2 separate regions of the Homo sapiens genome follow, and region 2 is linked to region 1. Evidence: promoter capture Hi-C in 16 types of primary human blood cells and fetal thymus (Javierre and others, 2016). All regions are on one chromosome and are shown on one strand. Each heading gives the region's core, a stretch centred on a gene start or on the middle of the fragment in contact. The rest is flanking DNA. Distances are from core to core; before and after follow the strand shown. Region 1 holds the start of ERGIC2 (ERGIC and golgi 2). Region 2 has its middle 2.7 kb from the start of PYROXD1.

Region 1 (3,565 bases), core at 343-2,842:
ATTAGAAAATGGTGAGTTGTTTTCTAAATAAGAAGGATCAAATTAGTCAGTTTTGCTACACTGGGAAATCCAACTCTCATGGGATAGTTGTTACCCTGAAAGTAGGTTATCCAGGAGATGAGGGATCAGATGTAACTAAGTGAACAACAGCCAGCCTCCATCCAAGCAAGAGCCCATATTCACAAAGAAGGAAGAGTTGCTGATGCCTTTACGGCAAAGATTAAAAAAAGGCATTTTAGATGTATATTAATTTACTTAATCCTCGTAACAACTCTGAGATATTATCATGCCCATTTTACAGATGAGCAAATGGAGACACAAAGAGATGAAATAATGTGGTCAAGGTTACATGCTAGTAAGTTGCTGATCTGGAATTCTAACCCAGGAAGTCCTGTCTCCAGTGTCTATGATTTCACCCACTACACTATACTTCTTAAGCATGTCAAGAAAGTGAGAACTTTAAATTGATTTAATTAGACTAACTCTGAAAGTCTGAAAATAAAATTGATTCATTGGAAACTTTTCATCAGTCCTTATTTTGGGGGATATTCAATTTAGTGAAATTTAGTATTTCAGTAAAGGTTAATTCACTACATAAAACAATGTGATTTTTTTCCTTTGAGGCACAGTTTAGTATTGTGATCAAGATTTCCCTGACTCTCCCAGCGGTCTGAATTTGGGTAAATCACTTCACTACCCCTTGACTCAAATTCCGTATTTATAAAACAGGTAAATACTGGTATTATCTTCTAAGAGTGTTGTGAGGATACGCAGATTTTTTAAAAAAGCAGTTAAAGCCTTTAAACAGTAATTATAAGCAGTTGTCATAATTATGCCGTTGTTAGACTTCTAGGTCAATGAATCAGAAAATTTAAATCTCAATGTTTGATTATAAAATCTGGTAACAGATGGGTGAAAAGGAACCTGGAATGGGTTTACTCTCCAGGAGTTCACATTTAACTTTTCTTTCCGAAGTTCCGTCTATTAACTCCTGTTCTATGAAGTGGTAGAAAAAGATGAGGTATTAATTTTCTTTCTTAACAAATATTTGAAGGCATAGTTGGTGTTGGCGAAGGGAGATGAGGAAGACATATGTGCTTTCTTATGATATTAAAACCTGGAAGACAATAAAAACGCTGATCAAATAATAAAAAGCGTTACCTATGGCGGAAAAGGAAGCTCAAATGTTCTTGTCAGGGGAAAACGACACAAAAACTGAAAGAGGGAAACAAAACAATTGCACAGGTGATATGCATTAGGGTTGTTAGGGATAATTTCTGCGCCCAAGGCTCTTATTAGTAATGAAATACGGTGTGAGGAGCTGAGATTCGTTCTGCAGTCTCAGTGTTAGTCGGAAAGTAACCCCTCCCTTCCCATAGAAACAGAACCGGACTGGCGGCGCGATTACACCTAAAACAAGTTGCAACCTCATTTCCCTGTAGGCACGCCTCTTTTATCTTAACCACGCCTCTTCATTCCCTAAGCACGTCGTAAGCAAAGGGAATATCGCGAGATCTGTACATTGTCTCTTTTCTGACGTTTTCAGCTGTGATAGTCGCTTTTGTTCTCGCGATATTTCCGGGTACGCGGGAGCCCCGGCGACCCGGGCTTCTGTGAAACATGGCGGTAGGCTGGGACCATAACACAAGGTAAAATACTGAAACACCGCTGGGTGCTGTTCCCTCGGTTGTTCCAGGGCTGTTTAGGGCGTAAATGCAATTGAGGGAACTGGGAGCCTGTCATGGGCTTGGCTTCCTGTCTTCATTGATCTCTAGAGAGCCGGTCGGACGGAGAAGCCGCTCCACCTCCCACGGGGGCGTTACTGGCAGGACCCTAGGCAACGATGCTACTGGGAGCTTCCCTTTGCCAGGTCCGGGTGCTTGTGTGCTATCCTGCAACTCGAAGGAGTTCAGGTGCTTCCTCGATCGCACCTGATTCTGACCCTTTGCTTGTCACAGTGCCCGGTTCCCAGGTGGTTTCTCCAGTCCGCAGGCGAGTAGGATCCCAATCGGTCGAGTCCCAGTCCTCCCGGATGTCAGACTCCCTACCCCCATTCAGACAAATGCCACATTCGTGGCAGCACGTTGCCCTCTGTCTCTTTAAGAGTCTTGGCCTTGCCCGGAAGGAGTTTCGCACAGTGCTTCGGAAAATGAGAAGGGGGCGGGGGAGGGCGAGATGCTGAGAGACAGGTTCGACTGTCACTACTTTTCCTCGGCGCAGGAAACCTTCCGAAGGCAACGTGTCAACTCGTGGTGGAGAATAGCCTTGTTTATCTGTAGTATATAGAGTTGACAGGTCATTGTTTGAGAAAACACGTTTAAATAACTTTTATATTTTAGTGCCCCCGAGACTTAAAGACAAAGTGGCATAATAGCTGTTAAAATGTTGCCAGACTGGTTTTCAGAAGCAATGAAAGTTACAGTTAAAAACAGGATTTATTCATTTGAAGTTGTAATTCAGTATTTCAGTTAATTGCCTAGCCTGATACATTGGACTCCAGTATACAGCAATTATAAAGAATGAGCCTGGCTTGTTCACTGAAAAAAGACATGGTTATTTACCTAATTTGTTTGTTGATATCTTTAAGTTGTTGTAATTATGCCAGTTCTAGTGGAAAACATGAGGAAAAAAATTCTGATTTTTTGGGAGGGTGGGGGTTGGCGGTGCAGGGATGGATAGAGAGAGGAGGATTTTTTTTTTTTTTTTAAATGATGGTGAACTTTAGTATACAGTTGCGTGTTATAATGGCTTCCTGGTACAAATCATAAAAATATATCAAGTTTGAAAGATCTCTCAAAGGAAATCAGGCCTAGTCTGGAACAACGAGAGTTAGGGAAACAACAACAACCACCCACACATTTTCTTTCTTTGGGGATTGATGATTTAAGTGAAAGAAATGGCTATTTTTTTTTTCTTTACCAGAAGTTACTTTTAGGCAGTCAGTGCCTGCTAAAAATCCTATTTAATAGTTTCCCAATATTTATTGTAATTCTGCCTCTTAATGTCATAGTGGTCAAATTATTTAACCTCTCTGTGCCTTAGTTCCTTCATCGGCCAAATGAAATAATGATACTTAACTCATAGGAAGGTTGTGAGGATTGAATGTGTTGAAACATACAAAGCATTTAGAACAATACCTGGCACACAGTAAACACTCAATGCATGTTAGCTCTTGTTATTTTTTATTTTCATTTTCTAACATCTGTAGTTACAAATGTTGCCTTGTTACTTAGTCAAAATGTAGACTGAAGAAGATATTGTTTAAAATAATATCTTTCTGAACTCCAGATTGATTAAACACTCTGATTGGTGTGGTTAATGTGTCCTTAAACTCCCATTATCCAGTTGCTTGTTTTCTTAAATTATTATCCTCTTTTAATGACTAAAGCATAAGTTCTTCCTTTCTATTGCTCTATATAGTCACGTTGTAGTGTGGCTCAGATCTACCCTCTGAGTGCCTTATTAACCCCCATACTCTTTGCTTTTGAGAACATTCATTCTATTGTAAATATATTTCATGTGTCCCTGACCTTTTCCTTAATACTTTTTAACTTTAATTTTCTAT
Region 2 (3,565 bases), core at 738-3,237, 7.9 Mb after region 1:
ACAGGAAAGCCTACCACGTATCTAATTACAGGCATTTACTGATACCTGTAAAAATCATTGTTCTTTGATTTACCAAGTTAAATGGTAAGCGGTTTAATAAACGTGTCTAATTCCTGTTACTAGTATAGCAACCAAACAAAGCATTCATTTCTAGGAGGAGGAAATACATTCCTTAAGCCCATTTAGATCTCATCTTGCTTCAGCTTATTTTCACATTATCTCACTCACACTGTGTTCCATTCAGGCCACACTACACTTCCAGATCCCAGGATATGCCATTTTCTTTCTGAGCATTTGCACATATCTTTTTCCCAACTACTTTTCCCTGGCTAACTCATCAACCTTTGGTTTCATCAAGCCATTGCTTCCCCTTTAAGATACTTTATCTAACATCCTCAAGACAGCTAGGTGTCCTCTCCGTGTGTTCTTATAGCACTTTGTCATCCTCTAAATTTAGACTTATCCCACTTTATTGTAAATTCTTACTGCCTGACCCCACCACCACCATAAACTGCTTACATAATCTCAGGGATTATTTTTGTCTCCCTTTGTATCTCCAATGTTTAGTAGGGAGTATGTATTCAACAAAAATGTGCTCAACGAAATAGGAAGTTGGTGGAGCATGAAACTCCCCTGAAGTCCTTCTAAAGATTTTTAGATTCATTGTCCAGGGTCAGGATCCTCTTGTATATTGTGACAGGGGTTTCCTCTTTATGGAAGTCGGAAGGAAGAATGGAGTGGAATTTAAGCTCCCAGGGGAAACGGAAGGAGATCATCGTCTGTGGGAGGGGAAGCAAAGTAGTAGGAGGCTCCTCAAATGTAAAGGGGTAATGACTCCACACTCTCCTTTTTTCTTCCCCTTGTGAAGGCTGGCTTTTTTGTCAAAGGTGATGTAGGGATAAGACCTAGCTGCCTGCCACACTGGCATGAATATCCAACTTTTAGAAATGTCTAAGGGTTAAAGAACTTTCAGTGCATCTCACCTTAATGTTGATTAAATTAGATACATATACTGGATGTAAAGTGGGTTAAAAGTAAGATGTAGGTAACTTGAAACATGTTATCCACAGGGAGGGCAGCAATAGGTACAGGTTAGGAGAAAGGGCAACTGCAAAGAAAACTGGGCACCTAGAAATAAGGGAGGCCCAATGCCAGGAAGCAGCAGAGAAGCAGAAAAGACAGAACTTCAGCTCCCCTTTAGCTCTGGTCAGCAAGCTTAGGAGTGACCTGGTGACTGTTTCTGAGGAGTCAAAGAAATACCAGTGTATTGCTAAATATTATGGTGTATGTTTATGGGTGGAAAAGAAAAGCAGGACTTGGCAAAGAAAGGTTCAGAGAAGAAGTGGAATTTATATTGAATCTCAAAGGCCCATAGCATTTGGATAGGTTCAGAAGAAGATGTGGCAAGTCATGTGGGAAATATCCCAAGAACCAAAGGCTTAGCAGCAGGAATGAGCATGGGAAATACAGGAGATGGTAAAAGGGAAGAAAGAAAGAAAAGTGGTTGGGGAGTTCAAGATTCATGTGGAAAAACTGAAGGAGATAAAGCTATCTTCTTCTATTTCTCTCCATAATGTTGTTACATCTGATTCCCATACCCACCTAATCTCTTGAAGGCCATCCCCAACTTTCAAACTACCATCAAAATCTAGTCTTCCATTCTTCTTCAAGTTGATATCAGAAATGCCTAGAATAGGAGTATTGAGGTTAATTTTCAACTGCAAAAATTGGGAATGAATAATGACATTTCATAGTTGGTGATTAATAGCTTTTGAGTCAGATGACCTAGGTTCAAATGTGGCACCAGCATTTCTTTGTTGTGTGACCATTCAGTGAGTTATTTACCTCATCTGAACCCTAGTTTCCTCATTGGCAAGACGGGTATAAGATCTACTTTGTAGAGTTGTTTTGATGCATGTGTGAGGCAACATATTTAAACTTCCTAGCATAGTGCGTGCCTCTTAGTAGGATTAATGGTTAAGTTGCCTGCCTGTGCCCTGTTGAATAGACTATGTTTCTCTGTCTAAAGGATTTTATCTATGATCATAACCTTAACAAGCCTATTATGCTTTTAACTCCCAAATGTCTATCTCTCATGCAATCTACTCTGAATCTTCAAGCCTGAAATTTCTGAAACATCTTGGATATCTTCTCATTTTTATCTTGGTTTTTGCCAATTCGCTGTAAGTACAGCCTGGATTCATCTTGCACTCGAAACCTCTTCTTTGTTTTGTTAGTTCATATAACTGATTTACTGAACAAGCTGGACTTTATAGGGAAGAAATTAAAGCAAACATTTTTATTTCTCAACGCTTTTCCTGTGAATGTATTTTTCTCCTCTAAATTCTTATTAATTTAGCTTATCTGATCATTCTCAGGTAATAAAAAGTCTGGTACTACCTATTATCAAAACTCCAGACACGCATCCAATTAAAGCCTCACCTAACTACAGGCAACGCAAATTGATTTCTTGTTGCTTTTTTGCTCCAGCTCTTCTCCTAACTAAGAGCTGATGTTTTCAGGGGCTTTAAGATTGGAGGGTGGGTAAGGAGTAAGGAGAGGAAAGAGCCTCACTGTTGTTCCTGTATGAGCATATATATGCAAACCTACCCCCAAAGGCTGAGAGAGCTGAGAGGCCAAAGAAAAACTGACAAATCCAGTTTCTCAGAAAGAGGTATTTAATAGGGACTTACACACAGAAATGATGATTCTGTTACAGTGCATCCCCACACCTGCCCTCCAGAAATTATGTAAGCTTTTAGGATAAAAGATGTACAGCTGATCATGTCTCAGACTTTCTTGCAAAACTCATGAACACTGGGGAGTCTAGATAAGAATCTTAATGAGAGAATTATCTAAGTTACAAGCTTTGTTTCTTTTGAAGGGTTATCTATGCTATGGGCATTGTTTAAGGACCTTGCTGCAGAACACCTTAGTATGCAGGAATCCAACATCAGTCATCATGGCCGTGGTGTCATTCTTGCCATACCGCAGGCTGTCTTCCTATATCTATGAATCAGTGGTGTGGTACAACTGTGAATCTGTGAGAGCTGATTGTTAAAATTTTAGGATTTGTGTGAGCTGATTGTTAACACAGCTATTGTTAAACACTAAATTGTATAAACATAATCAAATAAGTTATATTAAGACAAAGGTAATAAATATTCAAAACTTCTTATTTCCTAACTCTTTTGCTATTATCTCTACTCTTGAGGTTATTTACATCTATTGTATCTACAGGTAAAAATATAATGGTGGGCTACTATACATTTCTTCCTACTGCCTCATTCAGCGACGTCATGTTGATCTTGAAATTGGCCGTAATAGGAGTATTTACACCATGGAAAATGGCAGATTATACAAACCAGAGTTTGATTTATTTTATTGTTGATTTTTTAGAGTTAAAAAGGTGGTGGACAATAGCAAAGACATGGGATCAACCCAAATGCCCATCAATGATAGACTGGATAAAGACAATGTGGTACATATACACCATGGAATACTATGCAGCCATAAAAAGGAATCAAATTATGCCCTTTACACTGACATGGATGGAGCTGGAGGC

Evidence for each region. The method cuts DNA at HindIII sites, captures the fragments that hold promoters and counts their contacts. A CHiCAGO score of 5 or more calls a contact.
Region 2: a contact is called between a fragment that was not itself captured here and the fragment with the promoter of ERGIC2 in region 1, in 1 of 17 cell types (total B cells). The highest score is 8.2, in total B cells.

Annotation. Positions count from the first base shown.
Region 1 is chr12:29,379,199-29,382,763 of GRCh38, reverse strand. ERGIC2 (ERGIC and golgi 2) reads left to right here and starts at 1,592. Exons shown (of 14, transcript NM_016570.3): 1 at 1,592-1,649. RefSeq lists an enhancer at 1,860-2,029. The HindIII fragment of the contact is 7,270 bases long and covers 1-3,565 here.
Region 2 is chr12:21,433,127-21,436,691 of GRCh38, reverse strand. No RefSeq gene overlaps it. Among named protein-coding and RNA genes, the nearest start is that of PYROXD1, 2.7 kb to the left of the region's middle. The HindIII fragment of the contact is 1,540 bases long and covers 1,218-2,757 here.